7 separate regions of the Homo sapiens genome follow, and regions 1, 2, 3, 5, 6 and 7 are each linked to region 4. The links are contacts of gene promoters, found by promoter capture Hi-C in blood cells and fetal thymus (Javierre and others, 2016). All regions are on one chromosome and are shown on one strand. Each heading gives the region's core, a stretch centred on a gene start or on the middle of the fragment in contact. The rest is flanking DNA. Distances are from core to core; before and after follow the strand shown.

Region 1 (2,700 bases), core at 88-2,587, 430 kb before region 4:
TGTGTTGTGTATCTGTGTGTCTGTGAGTGTGTGTTTATGTGACTGTGAGTGTGTTTGTGTGTGTCTATGTGGCTGTGTCTATGTCCGTGTGTGTGTGTCATGTGTCTGTGTGTTGTGTGCCCGTGTGTGTCTGTGTGTGTCAGTGTATGTCTGTGTGTGTGTGTGTCTGTGTGTCTGTATCTGTGTGTGTCTGTTCTTGTCTGCACTTTTGTTCCCAGGAGATGTGAGGTGAAGACCTCACCAAAGTAGGAGTGGCGTGTGGGCTGGGCTTTGGCCCTTCGTGCTGGAAGTGATGGAGAGGCATGGCCTGGCTTGGCACAGCTCTGCCTTGCCTGTGCTGCCAGCCTCTTGTGAGAGATGCCATGTGGAAGGGATTTGGGACAATGCACAGTGCACTCTTCTGAGTGTTTTGTCTGGGCTAAAACTCTGCAGAGTATAGCTGTGGCTCTGAAACAAATAGAGGCTGGCCTTGTCAATTGTTTTGGGGTGAAGTTAATCCGGGGTAAGAGTCAGAGGCAGTCTAGAAGGCAGGGCATAAACTAGCCAGATGAAGGCCTTGGCTGGGAGTTGGGTTTATACCCCTAGGCCTAAGGAGTAGCCACTGCTAACAAGAGTTGTAGTTTTTCCTCTGGGTTGCAATTCTCTTCTCTTGCCTCCAAGCCTCCACTCAGGTAACCTGGCAGTGGGGAAATTGAGAGGTGCAGTGTCCACTCACTAATGATGAAGGTGAGATGTGGATGCATGGAGCACATTTTAGAAAAGCCCTGGCCTTTTATAAGGACCTGGGCCTTCCAGTATTTTCCTTGCCATCTCACCACCTGCTAACACATGCTGTGCACATAGGAGGTGCCAGGAAAATGTGTGTTATTCGAATGGAACTGAGAAACCGTTCTAGTCTAAACCCTGAGGCCCCCTGGCTTGCCCCCTCCTACCATGCCCATCTAGTTTTCAATGCCAAGCTCTCACGTCAGGGTTTTTCATCTCCATCTTCCTGTTGTTCACTTTAGGGGAAGGGTCCTGCTTGGACTATTGCAGTAGCCTCCAAGTAGCTTGAACTTTGCTCAGACTCTCCCCTCCCCAATCTGCTAAGCAGATTGTTGACAAGATTCTCTGCAGTTTGCTGCTTTGATGATGTCCCTCTCCAGCTCCAAATTGTTACTGGCTCTCCATTGACTACAGGTAAAATGCAGACTTCTCAGCCTGATCTTCCACAATCTGACGTCAGCCTACCTCCTCATCCTGCCTGGGCCTGGAGGCATGCCAGCCAATTCAGACCACTTGCCATTTTTCTTTTTCTCCTCTGCATCTGGAATTGCTGTCAGTGAAACCTTCTCTTTCCCTCAAGGAGCACCTTGAATGCTGGCCCCACATCACCTTCCTGACCCTGTCAGCTCAAAGAGGTTTCTCTGCATCTGAACTCCATGTGTTCCAGTCTCTGGGTCCTTACCATGCACTGCTGGGGCATGCTGTGTGCTGGCCGCCGTCCCTCCTCATGCTCAGAAGCAGAGCCTATGACTTAGTCACTTTGGTCTCCCCAGCGCCCAGAGCAGATATTTGCACAGAAGAGGAGCTCAATAAATGTTTGTTTAATGAATGAATATATAATTCTAACCCAGTGCCCTGCTTTCTTACAGTGACATTCAAGTCATCCTAGGCCAAAAAAAAAAAAAAATGCCTATTTACCTTCCAAAATTACCTCTCATATTGGTCAAAATTAAAATAAACACTTGGCGGATTAAGACCTGGCCTGTCATATTGTATCTGACACCATTAAGAACCAAGGTTGGGGTGCCTCACGGTTGACTTCCACTGATCTAAGATGTCAACAACAATGTCACCTGCCTGATAGGGTGACATCTGAGCTCCAAGGCATGCACTCCTGTCCTTTGGGCGCTCACCCCCGGCTTCATGCACCCTGTGCCCTGGGTCAGTGCCTGCCTCTCTGATTCAAGCCTTCTTCTGGGCGACTGGGCCTTTGATCTTGGGTTATGTTCCTGTTTTGCTTTCACTTTCCAGCTCTTATCTGCTAGAGTGCTTTGAGTGTAAGCAACAGGAAGTCCTGTGGCTAATGTAGGCGTTAAGGAGTTTATTGGAAGCATGTAGCAGAGCCCATGGAACTGAATGGAGGGCAGAGAACCAACTCAGAGCAATTAGAATTGGGATCACAAACAGGGTGGGGTGTGGGGCTCAGAAACAGGAGCTATTGATAAAAGAACTGTTTTTTCGTTTTTTTGTTTTTTTTGAGACAGTCTCGCTCTGTCACTCAGGCTGAAATGCAGTGGCGTGATCTCAGCTCACTGCAACCTCCATCTCCCGGGTTCAAGCAATTCTCATGCCTCAGCCTCCTGAGTAGCTGGGATTACAGGTGTACGCCACCATGCCTGGCTAATTTTTGTATTTTTAGTAGAGATGGGGAGCTTTGCCATGTTGGCCAGGCTGGTCTCAATCTCTTGGCCTCAAGTGATCCGCTTGCCTCGGCCTCCCAAAGTGCTCAGGAGGCTGAGGTAGGAGAATGGCATGAACCCAGGAAGCGGAGCTTGCAGTGAGCTGAGATTGCTCCGCTGCACTCCAGCCTGGGCGACAGAGCAAGACTCCATCTCAAACAAACAAACAAACAAACAAACAAAAACACTGCTGGGATTACAGGTGTGAGGCACCACGCCTGGCCTGAAAGGACAGGTTCTTAAGGGGTTGCCATTG
Region 2 (2,700 bases), core at 123-2,622, 400 kb after region 4:
CAACTCAATGCCCGGTTAGGATGTACTGTAGCCAGGCCAACGAGGTCTCTAGACATCCCTGAGATCATAAAAATAGAAAGTAAGGCCCCACTGCCAGGTTGAGTTGTGCAAAGGGAGCTTTGAGCAGTCTGCAAAGAGCCTCTAGGCTGCAAGAGGAAGGCCTGGCCCCTGAAGCCAGGTGGACTGATGTCTCCAGTACTAATTTAATTAGAGTGGTCCAGGGAGGCCTAACACAGGAGGTGATGTGGGAGCTGAGGTTTGAATAGCAAGAAGAACCAGCCAAGGCAGGTTCTAGGGAAGGCCATTCCAGGCAGAGGGAACAACTACCACACAGGCTCTGGAGCAAGAGTAAGCTTGACATGTACAAGGAATCAAGACAGGGCCCATGCGGCTAGAACACGGTGGACCAAAGAAAAATGGAAGTTGGAGAAGAAGACAGGGCCAATTGTGTGGGGCCTTTCACTCCGTGGTAAGAAGTTTGAACTTTAAATGCAACAAAAACAATTGAAGAGTTTTGCTTTTTAATTAAAAAGAGCGATATTTCAAGGTTCTTCTGGCAGCAGTATGGAGAGTGGCCGTCGGGGCAACCTGGATGGGAAGAAAGAGGTGTGTTAGGAAGCTGTTACAGTTGGTCACGGAGGACTTAATGGCTTGGGCCGGAGGGATGGAAATGGAGAGGAGTGGACAGATTCAGAATGTATTTTTGGAGCTGGAACCAATAATTCCTACTGACAGATTGTGAGAGGAGAAAAGGGGAGAATCAAGGAAGACTCTGGTGATTTTGTTTTGAGAAGTGGGGTTGGAGGTTAATACCACTCACTCAGATGGGGGAGACTTGGAGAGGACCAGGTTTATGGGCAAAACATCTAGCTTTTGTGTAGGTGATGGCCTGGTGGTAGCTATTGACACCCTCATCACTATTGTAGTGGATGCAGCGGCATGCTGCCCAGATCCCCTCTTCAGAGCCAAGACCCCAATCCTCCAGCCGATGGGAAGGTCACAGTTATTACTCATCAGAAACCTGCTCTCCTTCCGAGGCCATGCCTCCTCCCAAGAGGGGCCATGGCCGATAAAGGGCCGATGTGTAGACACACAGCCCAGGCTTCTTACCTAAATTGGAGACTACCCTAAAGGGCCATCCTTGTTCCAGAGGTCCCCGGATCAGCCAGGGCCTCTGGTGCAGCTGCACGTCTCTCAGCTTCTTCCTCTGCCCTGTCTGCCTCCTCACCTCCTCGCAGATGATTTCCCACTAACACCTACCAGCTTCTCACACCACCTCTGTCTCAGTCTGGATCCAGAGAACCTAGTGTAAGACAACTATTCTCATCACCATAATCGTTATTACCAGGTCATTTCCAGACTCCCAACCAATTTGAAAACTCTGTTATGAAGCATTCTGAAATAGCCTTTCAAACTTCTTGAACGCCTACTGTCTAAAAAGGCCTAACTCCCCATCTTTGTTCACCACAGCCCCCTCAGAAACAGTTTCTCATCCTAGATTTACTGAGAAAATTATGTGTATGTTGTCAATGCTCTGTCTATAGATGCACATTTGTACAAGTTAGACCCTGGGTCCTGATGTTGAGAAGGGGCCCATACCCAGTGAGTTGATACAGCAGGGATAACAGAGGCCTCCTGATTGATATACCACCCCAAACCCCTGCTCCCAAAGAAGAAAAGAATGTGCTTTCATGGTGTCTGTGTGTGTGTGTGTGTGTGTGTGTGTGTGTCTGTGTGTCTGTGTGTGTGTGTGATGCCCACATGTAACCAAATGGACTATAATGCTTATAGCTGGACAGATGCAGGGCCATTACATACGACTGCACTAGGTTGTACCCTATACAAATACACCTGGTGAAAAGGATAGTTGGGGGGTAAAATCCAGCCCATATTCTCCTGCCGACCTTATGCCCAGGTATGGTGCAGCATCTTTCTCTACCCACCACACCATGCACCCTGACCCAGGGCTAATTCTGCCCAGAGGGTATACTTTTTTCTAATTTGTACAAAAGCTCCAAAAGAACAGGAACAAGGAGCGCTGGTTATTAAACTCTTGTCCCTCGGCCCCAAATCCACCCTTCTGTTCTCTACTTTGTGCTCCTGGAGATGAAATCCTGCAAGCCACATTTCCCCTTCACTAGCTTCTCCTTACTAGGCCCCCTCCCATTGACTCTTGGAGGGACAAAGAGAGGCAGAAGGAGAGACCCCATCTATCCCATTTGCTGCTTACTCCTGGCCACATCACTCCACCAGCAGTGAATTCCAGTTCACTGGCTTTTTGCCACACCCTCAGAACCCACCTTGGCATGTCCAGCAACATCAGCACCAATCAGCCAGCACCAGCTTCTCTGAGTTTTAGGTCCTAGCACTGCAGTTTCTTCTCCAAGCTTCCAGGTTCTAATAACCCTGATCTCTTTCTTTGTTCCTCTGTCCTAAAGGTATAGCTGCCTTTTGGCAGTTACTATCTCTGTAAGTCCTCAATGGCCACTTTCTGTCTTTCTGCGCCTCCAATTCTTGTTTACTCAGTTCCCTACGTTAAAATCTCTCTGTTCAAACAACTTGTGTGAGCTCTGTTTTCCTGACTGACAGTCGTTGGGGGCATAAATGAGAGCCTTTCACAGTCAGAGCCCCCCAGTTACTGTTAGTCACTCATTTATTCATTCAACAAACATTTGTACTATAATCCCTATGTATAGAAGA
Region 3 (2,700 bases), core at 125-2,624, 390 kb after region 4:
AGTTGCTTGCCCTTGGTTACATATTTATTTCCTGGTCTGTGAAAGGGTAATACAACCTCTCTTACAGTCAGGCTGTGAGGGATAAGATAAATAAGCTTTGTAAAATATTGGCAATAGTTGCTGACACAGGAGTTTCTCAATAAATGTTCACCCTTCCCTCACCTATTTCATTCCAGTCATTGATAAAAGGGCTGAATAAGATATGGCCAAAGACAGAGTCCCTTGACATGCCACTAGAGACCCTCATCTAGGCTGATGTAGTTAGATTTATCCATTCCATTTGGGTATGGCCCTTTAACCGGTTCCTAATCTATTGAATTGCACTAGCATCCAGTCCTAACTCTTCACCTTGAGATGCGCATGAGACACCTTGCCAAATATCTTGCTCAAGTCCAAACAGATCACATATTTCTCACTTGCCTGTCTAGAAATCCAAAAGGGCAAGTGGGAGAGCCCAGGTGTGGGAATCACAGCGTTTCAGCCACAGTAGTGGGGAGGAGTGGGGTGGGCACAAGTCATACTTTATATTTGATTGCCAGAATGTTGGGCTCCCAGAGAGAAGCCCTGTTTCCCAGCAATGTGCCAGGTAGGCAGACAAGGCAAGAAGTATGACCAAGTATATTCTGTTGCCCAGGAGCTGGCCCAGAGGAGGTGGAAATGTGTGCTGAACTAGGACTTAGGGACCAGAGTTCTAGTCTTACAGTTACTGGGTGACATCAGGCAATCTTGTAACTTCCTGACCTGTTTCAGCTCAGCCACACTGAGCAGATCCTCACTATGAACTATGCCCCTTTAGCCCTTAACTGTTTGCCCAGTTCCTCCCTAGGCTCAGGAAATGGAAGTATTTGACCTGCTGGGTAGTACACATATCCCAGAGTGAGGGTGATGAATACATGGCAGGGTTCCAGGGAGTATAGGGAGCTATACCAAAGGCACAGCAGCTCTTCCTAGAACAGTGGTTAGTTAGAGAATTGCGATGTGCATACACACTTATGCATACCCACACACAAACATACATGCACACGTGGATATGCTGTGGGAAAGAAATAGATTTCCTTAAATTCTGCACGCATTTTTAAAATAAAGCCTGAGATTTCTGAGATATTTTCTATCTGCCACTGGCATATGACCCCTCAACCCTATGGGTACAACATCACCTTCCCGACATTTGAAAGTCACCCTGCTGGGCAGAAGGGGCCCTAGAGGCTATCTTGGATACATGAAGACCAAATGGCTGTTCTTGGCTTCCTTGGTGCTCAAGAAAAAGTCCAGCCACTTCCTGTTTCAAGAGCTGCCCCTTTCTCTAGGGCACACTGCCCCTCCGAGTACCTGTTCCCCAGCCCCAGGAGCTCCCCTGATGCTATGAAGGAGGAGCAGCAATAAAGAGACTGCCCGCCCCATCCCCACCACAATCTGTAGTCACAATTGTGTCTACTGTGGGCTTAATCTTGGGCCCCACTTTTGAGCTGGGAATGTAGGAAAAAATCACTAACTTAGACAGGCCAGAGTTCAAATCATGGCCCTCTCTTATCATGCAAAGGCCTCAGGCAAGTCACCTACTTCTCTGAGACCAGATATGCAAATTGCAAATTGGGATCCTAGGACCTAAATCGTTGGTGGTTGGGAAGTTATGGGGAAAAGTCCTCACATATCCTCAAGTGCCTATCCACCCCACCTTTCTCTTAGTCTTGATTCCTCCAAAATATTAGGTTACCTTTCTTTCTAATTTTTACCTGACAAGGCACAGCATAATGAAAACTGAAACTGGTTGGCCATCAGCAGACATGACTTTGAGACTACCATACTCAACGCTGACTATCAAGTCATGTATATAAACCATGCCTCAGTTTCCTCACCTTTAAGAGAGGAGGGTTGAAATAGATATTGATTATATCAGCCTCCATAGATTGCATTTCTGTAGTGTTCCAGTCATTTCATAGATGCCATTTAATTTATATTAATTCAGTATCCTACAAGAAGGTATCATCAGGCTTTACTCTATGAAAAGGAGTGGGGTGCAGCACTCAAGAACATGCGCTTTGAGCTAAGACTGCTTGACTTCAGCCCCCTGCTCTTTACTCAGCTGTTTTTTGATCTAAGACAAGTAATCTAACCGCTTTGTGCCTCAGTTTCCCTTCTGCAAAACCTAAGGTGTTTATGAAGATTAAATCAGATAATCCAAGCAAGGGGTTTCACTCAACACCTGGCACAAGAGAAGCCCTGCATAAGTAATTACCCCAGAGGAGCCAAGATATCAGAGACCTGTCCAAGGCTACAGAGCACAGGGCTATCCAGCTCCAAGTCCATGCCCTGGTCCTCTGAAGAACGTTGTCTCTTTTACAGGACTGTGGAGGGCCCTCCAAGAGCATCTCTGTATTGACTCTGGAGTTGTTGGGCTGGTGGTTTAGTGCCCAGGAGGAAACCTCTGGAAGTCAGGGGAGAGACATGAGATCCTGGGGAACTCAATCTTCCCCCATGCATGGCAGATATCCAGACCCCAGCATACATGCCCACAGAGAAGACACACACACACACACACACACACACACACACACACACTCATATACATATGTACACTTAGTACAGGAGCCATTTCTCCAGATCAGCCTGTTCCAAGACTCCAAATCCCAGGGCTGCTGCAAACAAAGCTTTTAATCCACTGCCCCATCAACACACCTGTCCAGGGCAGGTCAATAACAG
Region 4 (2,700 bases), core at 141-2,640:
CAGCTCCTCATTAAGATGCAAAAGCGAACCTCCGGCTCCTAATGAGGGGAAAATATAGATCCGGGGACGCGCGGCCGGCTCGCGCGCGGGCTCGCGGACTTGCCGGGGAGGGCCCCGGGGGTCCCGCCTTGGCCGTCCACCGGGCGGTGCGCGCTTTGAGGTCCACTCCCTGCTTGCTCGTCTGCCCCGCCGTAACCCCGAGCGCGGGAGGGCGAGGCCATCGGTTTGCGGGCAAGCTGGCCCCGGAGTCGAGTGGCCTGTGCGACCAAGCGGGGGGTCCGGGGGGCCCGGGGCCGGGGCGAGCGAGCGGGGGAGCGTCCGCGTCCCTCGGAGTGTCCAGGCTAGCGACCGAGACACCTACAGGCTTCCGCCAACGCCGTGGCACTGCCGGGAGCAGGCTGAGCAAACCAGGTGGGAACTCGGAGTTCCCGGGCCTCGGCCGAGCAGGGTCCCGACCCCATCCCCAACCCCCTCAGCCTGGGGATGCAGTGAGGAGCCCGCGCGGCGAGGCTGCGTCGAGGGTGAAGTTGTGCCCACGGGGAAGGCGCCCCGAATGGGGCCAGCCGTGGCTGAGCCTGTTGTCCACGGGCAGCCGGGCCCTTCCATCTGCGCTGCCCGCCTAGCCAGAGTCCCTCAGACTTCTCCTCGCAGGCAGCCGCCGCACATCAAAGGAGCTGTTTATTTGGCTTTCTGAAAAGAAGGGCGAGTGAACAAAGGAGAGCTGGGGGCTAATGTGGGGGAGGCGGGCAGAAGAAGGGGTGAAGAAAAGGGGACATCCTGAGTTCCGAGCAAATTTTTAAAGGTCGGAGGCAACTTTAGGAGCCACCGTTTTATCAGTCCTAAATCTTTTGAAGTGAAAACATTAAAGTGACAAAGTGATTGTTTGTTTTATAGTATCTAATTGGGCTGCTTTGCAGACCTAATGAGATTAGAGGGAGGAATCGTTCGCCGCCGCTGCAGAATAAACTGATACATTACTACCAGCCACAGGTTTTGAAGATTGTACAGCTTGTCTTATTTTCTTTTGTTGTTATTCCTCTGTCTTCCCTCTTTCCTCCTCCCGCTAAATAATTATTTGCTAGTAGACCGTGGGAAAAAAAAGGAGGAAAAAAACTCGAGCAGCCCAGGACTATAATATATATCTATTTATTATATGTCTTTCGGTTAATTCCTGATCTGAGGAGCGCTGTTTTTCACTCCCATGCGAAAGTCACCAGCGGGTAGGGCCTGATTGCTACTTTTCATGCATAGTTTTAGACACAAGAGGGCATTGTGACGTCGCGCCCAGCGGCACCCAGTCGTAGGCCGAGTCCCGCAGCCCCACGTGGGGGCCCCGCGCTCCCATTGGCCAGCGCCGGACGAAGCTGCCACATTATTTTGTTACTTTTCAGTCCCTATTTGGAACTGCTCTCGCGGCAGTTCAGACCTCGTGCTCGTCCCCTTCGCCTGTCTGTGTGTGGTATCCGTAGGTCCGGGGCACTTTTTTTTTTGGTGTGTGTGTGTGTGCGTGCGCGCGTGTGTGTGTGTTGGGTGTGTGTGTTTTGGGGGTTTGCCGGGGCGCGGAGAGGAGAGCCGGGCCGAGGGGAAGGAAGGAAGCCGTAGAGCTCCCCGGTCTCGGGCTGCGTCTCCCCTCCAGCGCTCTCCTGCCTGTGCGCTCCGACGCGGCAGCGGCGGTGGCGCTGAGCGCTCCTCGGTGGGGACGCGGTGCTCAAGCTGGGAGCAGCGAGAACCCTTTGCGGAGGCTTCCCGTGCCCGCTGGACTTAGGATGCCAGGGCGTTTGATTTGCACCTACTGAGCCCGGAGTTCCTCCCCGGCCCTGGGAAGGGCTTGCAGCGGCGGCGGCGGCGGCGGCAGCGGCAGTAGCAGACGGAACAGCAGGCTCTCCTCTCCGAGGGGGGGCGTCGAAGCGCCCGCGCCGGGCTCCCGCCCTCACCCTCCGGCGCTCCTGCGGCCCCAAGCCACCACCTCGTAGCCCGCCTCCTTCCTCTTCTCGCCGCGAGCCCCAGGCCCGGACGCCTCTAGGATCGGACCCGCGCGCCCCGGATGCTTGGGGCTGCCCCGGCGCGCCCCCCTACAGGCGCGACCCGCTGAGTGACCCGGAGGGGGCCCGAGCTCGCCCCAGGAGGGGCCCCCGGCCTCGGGACCCCGCGCCGGACCTGCTGGGGAGCCGACGATGTCCGCGCAGTCCCAGGCATTGACGCGCTCGACGCAGCCCAGGGAAGGCGGCCGGCCGCTGCCCGCCGAGCCCTAGGCGCACAAAGCCCGCGCCCGCCGCCCGGCCCCGGCGCCCGCCGACGACTTTGCCGCCTGCTCCGCGGCTCTTTGTCTCCACTTGGGGCGGGCGCCCGACTCTGGGATTTCGCTGCGAGAACGAGCTGGGGGGGCCGGGGGCGAGCTCTCGGTTTCCCGGCCGCCCCCCGCTCGGGCTCGGCTCCCCCCTCCCCCGCACCTCCCCGGCCCGGGCTCTCGGCGCTTCCACGCTCTCGGAATCACGACCCCTCCCTGCCATGTATCCGCAGGGCAGACATCCGGTGAGTAATTGCAACTCGGTTTATTTAAGCATCTATCATGGCAGGGTAAACGAGGCAGTTTATCTGGCACCTCCATTTTGCTTGTTGCTACCTTTATGGTGTGTGTGTTTGTGTGTGTGCTCTCACACAAAGGGGGATGCGGCCGGGGGGCGCCGTTGAGAGAGGAGG
Region 5 (2,700 bases), core at 119-2,618, 400 kb before region 4:
TAGGTCCAATGACCACTTTCCAATCTCTCCCCGAGAAGCTTCCAGTTTGGGCAGAGCCTATGGGCAGGGTGGGGACCATTCCAAGACGGGCCACTACAATAGCCCAGAGAAACACCACGTAGTACAAGCATGCTCCATTTTAAGCAAACCCTGTATTTGGAGCGGCATAAACTTGAAGTGAAGAGCACAGATTTGGTTTCCAGATGGCCTGGGCTCAAATCCTGGCTCTGCCACTTACCAGCTCTACTACTTATCTTTTTCTGTGTGCCAGTTTTCTCATCTGTAAAGTGGAAATAATAATGGTTATTCCTCTTGGTTTTGTTGCAAGAGTTAACCGAATGATTCTAAGGGAAGCATTGGCACTTAGTAAACACTAGATAAAGACTGTTCCAAGGAAGGGCAGAATGAGCACAGAAGGGCTTGTGAGTAGGAAGGAATGGGTCTGAGCATACCTTCGCGTGAAGGCAAAGCTATGTAGAGGGGCTGTGATGTAGTACACTGGGTTGCTGAAAGCTCAGAGCTTCCCTTCCAGCTATCAGGGCTGACAGGAGAGGCCTGGACCCAGCAACCCATTCAGCCCCGTCGTGATACCCTGGGGATTCTTGCTTCTCCCCCATTGAAACTGGTCTCCCTGCTCTCCAGAGGCAGAGAACTCCAGTGAACTCCCTGCAGGCGACTCCCTCCAACCTGGTGAGATGGGAAATTAATCTCCCTTGAAACCTATACTTAACATACAGGATTCTGTTCCCCAGTGAGACAATGAAATTAATCTGCCACTAATTTTCTGTTTGCCAACCCTGGGTTGCAGCATTTCTAATTCTGCTTTTCCAACTGTCTTGAGTCGGGTGAAACAAAGACTTAATCTCTTCTCTGGACTTGTTTATTCTGTCTTCAAAAAATGAATCACGCTGGCATTTTGCTCTACTGGTTTGGGGAAGGAGGGTGGAATGAGGTTTCCTTATCTCCCCCGGAGGCCATGGATTCCAGGCCTGTCTCTCTAGCCTCTCCCCAGCTTTCTGGGTGTGAGGGGATTAGGGGCCCCTATGATCTGTTTGCTTACTCTGAGTCTGAATGTATCAGTCACAGGGTGACTAACAGGCTGCCTCCTTGGGAACTGGGCGGGAAGGGGAGGCCCCTAAGTTTGAATGCCAATTTCTTGAGCGAGGCTAGGACCTGGGTCCCTTCCTCCCAGGGGGTGTTGTGGGGGAAGGTGGGGGAATCATGACCTGGCCCCACCTGCCTGCCTTTCTAACCTCTATTGCCAGCACCTAAGCCTCCAGCCACACCAACCGCCTGTCATTTCCTGAGCATGGTACCTTCCAAGCCATTCGCTCTGCTTGGCCTCCTTTTCCCCTGCACAGGGTAGGGCTTGACCTCTCTGTGCCTCAGTAAAACAGGAATAATAATAGTACCTGCCACAGGGGTGGAAGTAAGGACTAAATGAGAATCTCCCCTAAAGACTTAGAAGTGCGTGACATTAGCAAGTGCTTGATAAATGAGAACCAGGATTGTCATCACCTGACTCGCATGTCCCCACCTCTGGGACACCTTCCCAATCTCCCAGCAGAAAGATCCTTTCCTCTGGAGGCCCCAAGGCTCCCCCTGAGCCTCTGTGGAATCCTTATTCTGCTGCTTACAGTGGAGCCAGGGAGCATAACCTCTCTGCATTTCATTTTCCTCCCGCTGCGGAATAGAAATAATGATAGTGATGACCTCATCCCGGGTTGTCAGGAGGATTAAATGAGATAATGCTCATTAAGGGCTTAACACAGGGCACGACCTCAAGCAGTAAATCAATGTTCTGATGTGTGGTTATGATGGTTAATAATTAATGAGCATGCATTGTGAAGTCTGTCTTCCATCAGCAGAAACTCCCTGAAGGTAGAGGAGGTCCTCAGTCTTTCGTGGGACTCTTGGTGCTCACCTGTTGGGTGGGAACAAGGGCCTGATTCCTGAGCATGGTGGGTGAGGCTAGGCTGGCTGGTGGAGGGTGCCCACCTGTCCTGAGCGCAGGCCACTCTCACTGTTCAGCATAGTGTCCTTGGAGATACCTCCTGGGCCCTGCCTGAGCGAGCTTGGGCCCCAGCCCGGGCCACCACTGGCTTTGCTGTCTTCACTGTTGCCGATGAGCTGCACCGTGCACCTAGTAATGGTCACGACCACATCCCTCTCACCGTTCCCATCACCCTGAGCAGTGTCACTATCCTATCAGCACCAAGCCCCTGTCCTAGAGTGTCACCGCTGAGGGAGACCTTGGAAACCATCTGCTCCCATATCCCAGACTTATGCTTGAAAACTAAAGATGAGAGAGGTGCTCCAACTGGCCTAACACCACACAGCAAGTTGGAGGCAGTGCCAGGATTGGATCCAAAGCCTCTTGACTCCCACTGCAGGGCTCTTCCCAACACTTTGCTGCCTGTCCTTGCTTCACCAGAACCCCTGTCATCGTGCTGCAGAAGAAGGACACTCATATTTATTGAGCATCTACTATGTGCCAGATACTGTGTAGGCTTGTGTATTAGCTCAGTTACTCCTCCCAACACATCTGGAAGGGGTGATGTTATGCTCCCCATTTTACAGATGAAGAAACTGAAATCACTTGATCAGGATCACAGTAAGGCAATGAGGTAGGTGGAGTTGAAACCCAGATCTATCTAACTCTATATCCAGTGCTCTTTCCATTCTCCTTGAAGCTTCCTT
Region 6 (2,700 bases), core at 91-2,590, 380 kb before region 4:
AATCATCTCTGAAGTTGGCCACCCCTCCCTCCCTCTCAAGTCACTAAACATGCTCATTCTCTCTCGCTCTCTCTTGTCTTTGCAAGGAAACATCTTGGCTTCAGAGAGGACTTTCCACTGTGGCTGGGGAGCGTGGCCCATCTGAGCCTCATTTCCTGCCTTCCCCAAACAGGCAGAGCCCAAGAGGTCACCCAGAGTGTGCTGGAGATGGGGAGAGAGCGCTCACTTGCAGTTAAGGATCCTGGTTGCCGCTCAGGTGCCACTGCTAGTGCTTCCCATGAGGTGGGCTTACCAGTTACCATCATGGGGGCTGAGTTTCTCCCTTTGTTGTTCAAGCCGGGAGGGGTGGGTTAGAGCTGTGGTTTCCATGCTCATGCCTTTCAAATTGTTTTAAGTTGGGGCAACACTTATTTGCAGGGAATCTCAATGCACCAAACAGAACTGCTTGGTGCAAGTGGGAGTTGGGTCCGGCAGCCCCATGCACGCAGCATGTCCAGCCCAAACCCCTCCCAGTGATCCCCCCGGGCCCCAAGGAGGAAGACTTGGGTGCCGTGGAACACAATTTGAAAACCATGGTCTCCTTTCACAAAAGCCCCTGCCAGCCTTTGGGTTGGGAGAGGAATCTGTGCCTGCTGGGGGAAATCACCGTGGTTGCCTTTAGCTGTCTCGAGTGCACCTGATCCTCCACCCGGGGATGAGGGGATAAATTCAGCAAGGAGAAGACGGCCGTCCATAGTAACAACAACAACAAAAATGATTTTGCTCCTGCTGAAGTTTCTTGAGCAACTGGCAGGCTGCCATGAACGTACTTAGGCGGAAAATCACCAGAAAAAAATGATATAATCTGACAGATTTTTCACAGGCTTAAATATTCATGAATTAAAGGAATTGGCAGAATTTTCTACATTATTAGCTTTCATCATGGCTGCAGGAGCAGTTGGTATACTGGCTGCTCTTCAAGATCCATTAATCTCGTCCATCATAAGAGCAGCCATTTTAAAATTAGCTATTTTTACTGAGTGATGGTGTACAGGGGAGATGGGGAAATTGAAATGCGATTCCAGCGTAAAGGTCCTCCCCCTTCTCACTTTAAAAGCAGCAGGGAAAGCCAAGCAGCCTCTCAATGGGGAGGGGTCAGCGTAACTCCAGAAGAGAGGTCTGTGAAATGTAGGCATGTGGTGCGTTGTAGGGCCCTTCTAGTCCTTTGGATAGGGAGCACGCGTTTGCCTGCCGAGCCCTGAACTCCGGACTGGGGACCAGGAAGGGATTAGCATGGCTTTTGGTGAGGCAGAGACCAAGAGCCCCAAATAGGGGCTTCTGGGTGAGGAAGACATTTAGACCAAATAGCACAGTCTTTCTAACAGATGGCACTTGGGGTGCGGGACTGCAGAATAGCCGAATAATAATACTCATTATGAATGTCGGGGAGTGCGTACTCTGTGCTGGAAACCATGCTATGCCTGCATCTTCTGGTTCTAGCATCAGGGAACTCGGAAGGTAGACATATACATGTGTGTGTCTCGCACACAGGTTAAGTCAGTTGGCCATGGTCTCATGGCCAGTGAATGGCAGGGCCAGGATTCAGATCCAGGTCTTTCTGTCTGCAAAGGGAGTGAGAAGATGCTGTATTGATTGCTGGCCTGTGGCACTGTGAAGGTACATTCTCCCAAACACAGCCAAAACTTGGTAGGAGAAAGCTGCTTCTTTTCAACCATGGAGCAAAGTTATAGTCAGATCATTCCTGTGGAAACTTGAGGCCCAGGTTGATTTCATCCTCCCTTGCTTTCTTCCTTTTATCCATCCATCCATCTAACCCCCTTCCTTCCTTCTTTTCTTCCATCCACCTTTCCCCTCCCTCCCTCCCTTCCTCCTTCCCTCTACATTGAAGATGTAGGCTTTATTATCATTCAGGTATGGCACGGCCAATAAATCAGGAGCTGATGCCATGGAAAACTTGTTACTCACAGTTCCAGGAGAAGGGAGCATGCCACACCATGCGGGGCCACGTGGGGAAACACCAGGGGCAGTCAGGAGGCAGGGGGCGAGGGGAAAACATGGGCAGGAACTTTTGTGGTGGTTTCTATGGGAATGGATGGGCAGGGCAGGGCAAGCAGGTTTAGGATCGGCTAGTTTGAATAATGTAAGGTTCTGGGACACAGTCCCTAGTTGTTTGGTACCTGGCCCTGGGGTGACTGGGGAAGGGGCATAGGGGCCCTGAGTGTGACAGCCCAGTAGAGGAGGTGGGGGGCGGGGGTAGTCTCAGGACTGTTTGCATATTGCTATGGTTAGAACATTTGCATCCTCTCCAAAATTATGTTGAAACTTAATCTCCAATGCAATCATATTAGGAGGTGGGGCCTTTAGGGGGGCTCCGCCCCACGGATGGGATTAGTGCCCTACAAAAGGGCCGGAGGGAACTAGCTAGGTTCTTTTGTCCTTTTTCTCTTCTGCCCTTCTGCTGTGTGAGGACACAGTATCATCCCCTCTGGAGCACGGTGTTTAAGGCACCATCTTAGAAGCAGAGACTAGTCCTCACCTGCCAGACATGGAACCCACCAGCATCTTCATCTTGGACTTCCAGCTTCCAGAACTGTGAGGAATAAATTTCTGTTCTTTATCTATTACCCAGTCTGTGGTATTTTGTTATAGCAGCATGACTGCACTCAGACACATAAGCAAGGCACACTCGTAGGCAAGTCC
Region 7 (2,700 bases), core at 1-2,500, 410 kb before region 4:
GAAAATTGATTTTTTTCCCCTCATTCTTCGCCCCACCTCTCCCCACTCTGCACCTCTGTCATTTTTGCTTTTCTGTTAAAAAAAAAAATGTTATCTTGTTTCTTTTTCTAGCATAACTAATATATGCCACTGATCCCTTTTAATTTGGGGGAGTACAAGCTTACATTAGCCTGCTAGGTATCGCAATTGAGCTGCTTTGTCTTTGTGTGGCTCAACAAAGGGCCACGGGCTGCTGTGTCCAGGAAAAATCTTCAGTGTTGGAGCCACTATGCTGTGTGTGCCATTTACTTGGGGCCAGCAGAGCAGAGGTGCGGCCACTGTGGGGTGCTCAAGTCTCTGGGCTGCACTGACAGTGGTAGTGGCCTGACTTGGCAGGAAGAGGGTGCTGTAGAGCCAAGCATGGAGTACATAATTTTGGGTAGGGCCAGCCCTACCTTCAAGGATTCACCTGGGACGACCGCCTGGTTTGCTGCCAACTCCGAAGGGTGCCCCACCAGCAAATTCTTTTTTAAAATTTCAGCTATTATTTTGAATTCAGGGGTTACATGTGCAGATTTCTTACCCGAGTATATTGCATGTTGCCAAGGTTTGGGATATGAATGACCCTGTCACCCAGGTAATAAGCATGGTATCCAATAGGTAGTTTTTCAGCCCCTGCCCCTCTCCCTCTCTCCCCACTCTGGTGGTCCCCAGTGTCTGTTCTCATCTTTATGTCCATGTGTTTATGGACATGTGTTTATGTGTCCATGTTTAGCTCTCACTTACAAGTGAGAACATGCAGTATTTGGTTTTCTATTTCTGCATTAATTTGCTTAAGATGATGGCCTTTGGCTGCATCCATGTTGCTGCAAAGGACATGATTTCATTCTTTTTTATGGCTGCATAGTATTCCATGGTGTATATGTACCACATTTTCTTTATCCAATCCACTGCTGATGGGCACCTGGGTTGATTTAATATCTTTGCTATTGTGAACAGTGCTGTGAGGAATACACGACTACATGTGTCTTTTTGGCAGAACAATTTATATTCCTTTGGGTATATACCCACTAATGAGCTTGCTGGGTTGAATAATAGTTCTATTTTCAGTTCTTTGAGAAATCTCCAAACTGCCTTTTCACAGTGGCTGAACTAATTTACATTCCCACCAACAGTGTATAAGTGTTCCTTTCTCTCCACAGCTTTGCCAGCATCTGTTATTTTTTGACTTTTAAATAATAGCCATTCTGACTGGTGTGAGATGGTGTCTCATTGTGGTTTTGATTTGCATTTCTTGGATGATTAGTGATATTGAACATTTTTTTCATACGTTTGTCAGACACTTGTGTGTCTTCTTTTGAGAAGTGTCTGTTTATGTCCTTTGACCACTTTTTAATGAGGTTATTTGTTTTTTTGCTTGTTTAATTGTTTAAGTTTCTTATAGATTCTGGATATTAAACCTTTGTTGGATGCATAGTTTGTGAATATTTTCTCCCATTCTGTAGGTTGTCTGTTTACCCTGTTGATAGTTTCTTTTGCTGTGCAGAAGTTCCTTAATTATGTCCCATTTGTCAATTTTTGTTTTTGTTGTAATTGCTTTTGAGGACTTAGTCATAAATTCTTTGACAAGGCTGATGTCCAGAATGGTATTTCCCAGGTTTTCTTCTAGGATTTTTATAGTTTTAGGTCTTACATTTAAGTCTTTAATCCATCTTGAGTTAAGTTTTGTATATGGTGAAATGTAGGGGTCCAGTTTAATTCTTCTGCATATAGCTGGTCAGTTATCCCAGCATCAAATATTTATTGAATAGGGATTTCTTTTCCTATTGCTTATTTTTGTTGACTTTGTCAAAGATCAAATGGTTGTAAGTGTTCCATATGAATTTTTTTCTAATTCTGTGAAAAATGATGTTGGTAGTTTGATAGGAATAGCATTAAATCTGTAGATTGCTTTGGGCAGTATGACCATTATAACAGTATTGATTCTTCCAGTCCACAAACATGGAACATTTTTCCATTTGTTTGTGTTACCTATGATTTCTTTCAGTATTTCAGTAGTGTTTTGTAGTGTTCTGTTTAGAGATCTTTCACTTCCTTGGTTGGATGTATTCCTAGGTATTTTTTTTTTTTGAGTGGCTATTGTAAATGGGATTGAGTTCTTGATGTGGCTCTCAGCTTGAATATTATTGGTTTATAAAAATGCTGCTGGTTTTTGTATATTAACTTTGTATCCTGAAACTTTACTGAAGTTGTTTATCAGTTCTAGGAGCCTTTTGGCAGAGTCTTTAGGGCTTTCTAGGTATAGAATCATATTGTCAGTGAAGAGAGATAATTTGATTTCTTTTCCTACTTGGAAGCTTTTTGTTTCTTTGTCTTGCCTAATTGCTCTGGCTAGGACTTCCAGTACTATGTTGAATAGGAGTGGTGGGAGTGGGCATCCTTGTCTTATTCCTGTTCTTAAGGGGAATGCTTCCAGCTTTTGCCCATTCTGTTTGATATTGGCTGTGGGTTTGTTGTAGATGGTTCTTAGTCTTCTGAAGTATGTTCTTTTGATGCCTAGTTTGTTGAGGGTTTTTTTTTAATCATAAAGAGATGTTGGATTTTATTGAAAGCTTTTTCTGCATCTATTGACATGATCATATGATTTTTGCTTTTAAGTTTGTTTATGAGGGGCGAATAACATTTATTGACTTGTGTATGTTAAACCAACCTTGCATTCCA

Evidence for each region. The method cuts DNA at HindIII sites, captures the fragments that hold promoters and counts their contacts. A CHiCAGO score of 5 or more calls a contact.
Region 1: a fragment that was not itself captured here is called in contact with the fragment with the promoter of TLE3 in region 4 in 7 of 17 cell types (fetal thymus, naive CD8 T cells, total B cells and 4 more); the score reaches 13.7 in fetal thymus.
Region 2: a fragment that was not itself captured here is called in contact with the fragment with the promoter of TLE3 in region 4 in 3 of 17 cell types (activated CD4 T cells, non-activated CD4 T cells and neutrophils); the score reaches 7.0 in activated CD4 T cells.
Region 3: a contact is called between a fragment that was not itself captured here and the fragment with the promoter of TLE3 in region 4, in 9 of 17 cell types (activated CD4 T cells, naive CD8 T cells, total CD4 T cells and 6 more). The highest score is 14.1, in activated CD4 T cells.
Region 5: a fragment that was not itself captured here is called in contact with the fragment with the promoter of TLE3 in region 4 in 17 of 17 cell types (fetal thymus, non-activated CD4 T cells, monocytes and 14 more); the score reaches 24.6 in fetal thymus.
Region 6: a contact is called between a fragment that was not itself captured here and the fragment with the promoter of TLE3 in region 4, in 10 of 17 cell types (fetal thymus, M0 macrophages, total B cells and 7 more). The highest score is 15.1, in fetal thymus.
Region 7: a fragment that was not itself captured here is called in contact with the fragment with the promoter of TLE3 in region 4 in 15 of 17 cell types (fetal thymus, M0 macrophages, monocytes and 12 more); the score reaches 13.2 in fetal thymus.

What each region holds. Positions count from the first base shown.
Region 1 is chr15:70,527,714-70,530,413 of GRCh38, reverse strand. It overlaps LOC107984781 (a long non-coding RNA gene), which reads left to right. Exons shown (of 2, transcript XR_007064698.1): 2 at 1,180-1,741. Among named protein-coding and RNA genes, the nearest start is that of LINC02205, 23 kb to the right of the region's middle. RefSeq lists an enhancer at 1,907-1,956. The HindIII fragment of the contact is 3,599 bases long and covers 1-2,700 here.
Region 2 is chr15:69,693,555-69,696,254 of GRCh38, reverse strand. It overlaps PCAT29 (prostate cancer associated transcript 29), which reads right to left. Exons shown (of 4, transcript NR_126438.1): 4 at 505-588. Among named protein-coding and RNA genes, the nearest start is that of PCAT29, 100 kb to the right of the region's middle. The HindIII fragment of the contact is 2,034 bases long and covers 356-2,389 here.
Region 3 is chr15:69,711,349-69,714,048 of GRCh38, reverse strand. No RefSeq gene overlaps it. Among named protein-coding and RNA genes, the nearest start is that of PCAT29, 120 kb to the right of the region's middle. The HindIII fragment of the contact is 2,553 bases long and covers 98-2,650 here.
Region 4 is chr15:70,096,607-70,099,306 of GRCh38, reverse strand. TLE3 (TLE family member 3, transcriptional corepressor) reads left to right here and starts at 1,390. Exons shown (of 20, transcript NM_001105192.3): 1 at 1,390-2,532. The coding sequence starts at 2,509. RefSeq lists enhancers at 1-70, 158-1,132 and silencers at 63-212, 283-362, 1,952-2,121, 2,132-2,251. The HindIII fragment of the contact is 8,963 bases long and covers 1-2,700 here.
Region 5 is chr15:70,493,370-70,496,069 of GRCh38, reverse strand. No RefSeq gene overlaps it. Among named protein-coding and RNA genes, the nearest start is that of LINC02205, 11 kb to the left of the region's middle. The HindIII fragment of the contact is 2,655 bases long and covers 41-2,695 here.
Region 6 is chr15:70,471,993-70,474,692 of GRCh38, reverse strand. No RefSeq gene overlaps it. Among named protein-coding and RNA genes, the nearest start is that of LINC02205, 33 kb to the left of the region's middle. The HindIII fragment of the contact is 8,371 bases long and covers 1-2,700 here.
Region 7 is chr15:70,510,598-70,513,297 of GRCh38, reverse strand. No RefSeq gene overlaps it. Among named protein-coding and RNA genes, the nearest start is that of LINC02205, 6.0 kb to the right of the region's middle. RefSeq lists an enhancer at 446-525. The HindIII fragment of the contact is 2,177 bases long and covers 162-2,338 here.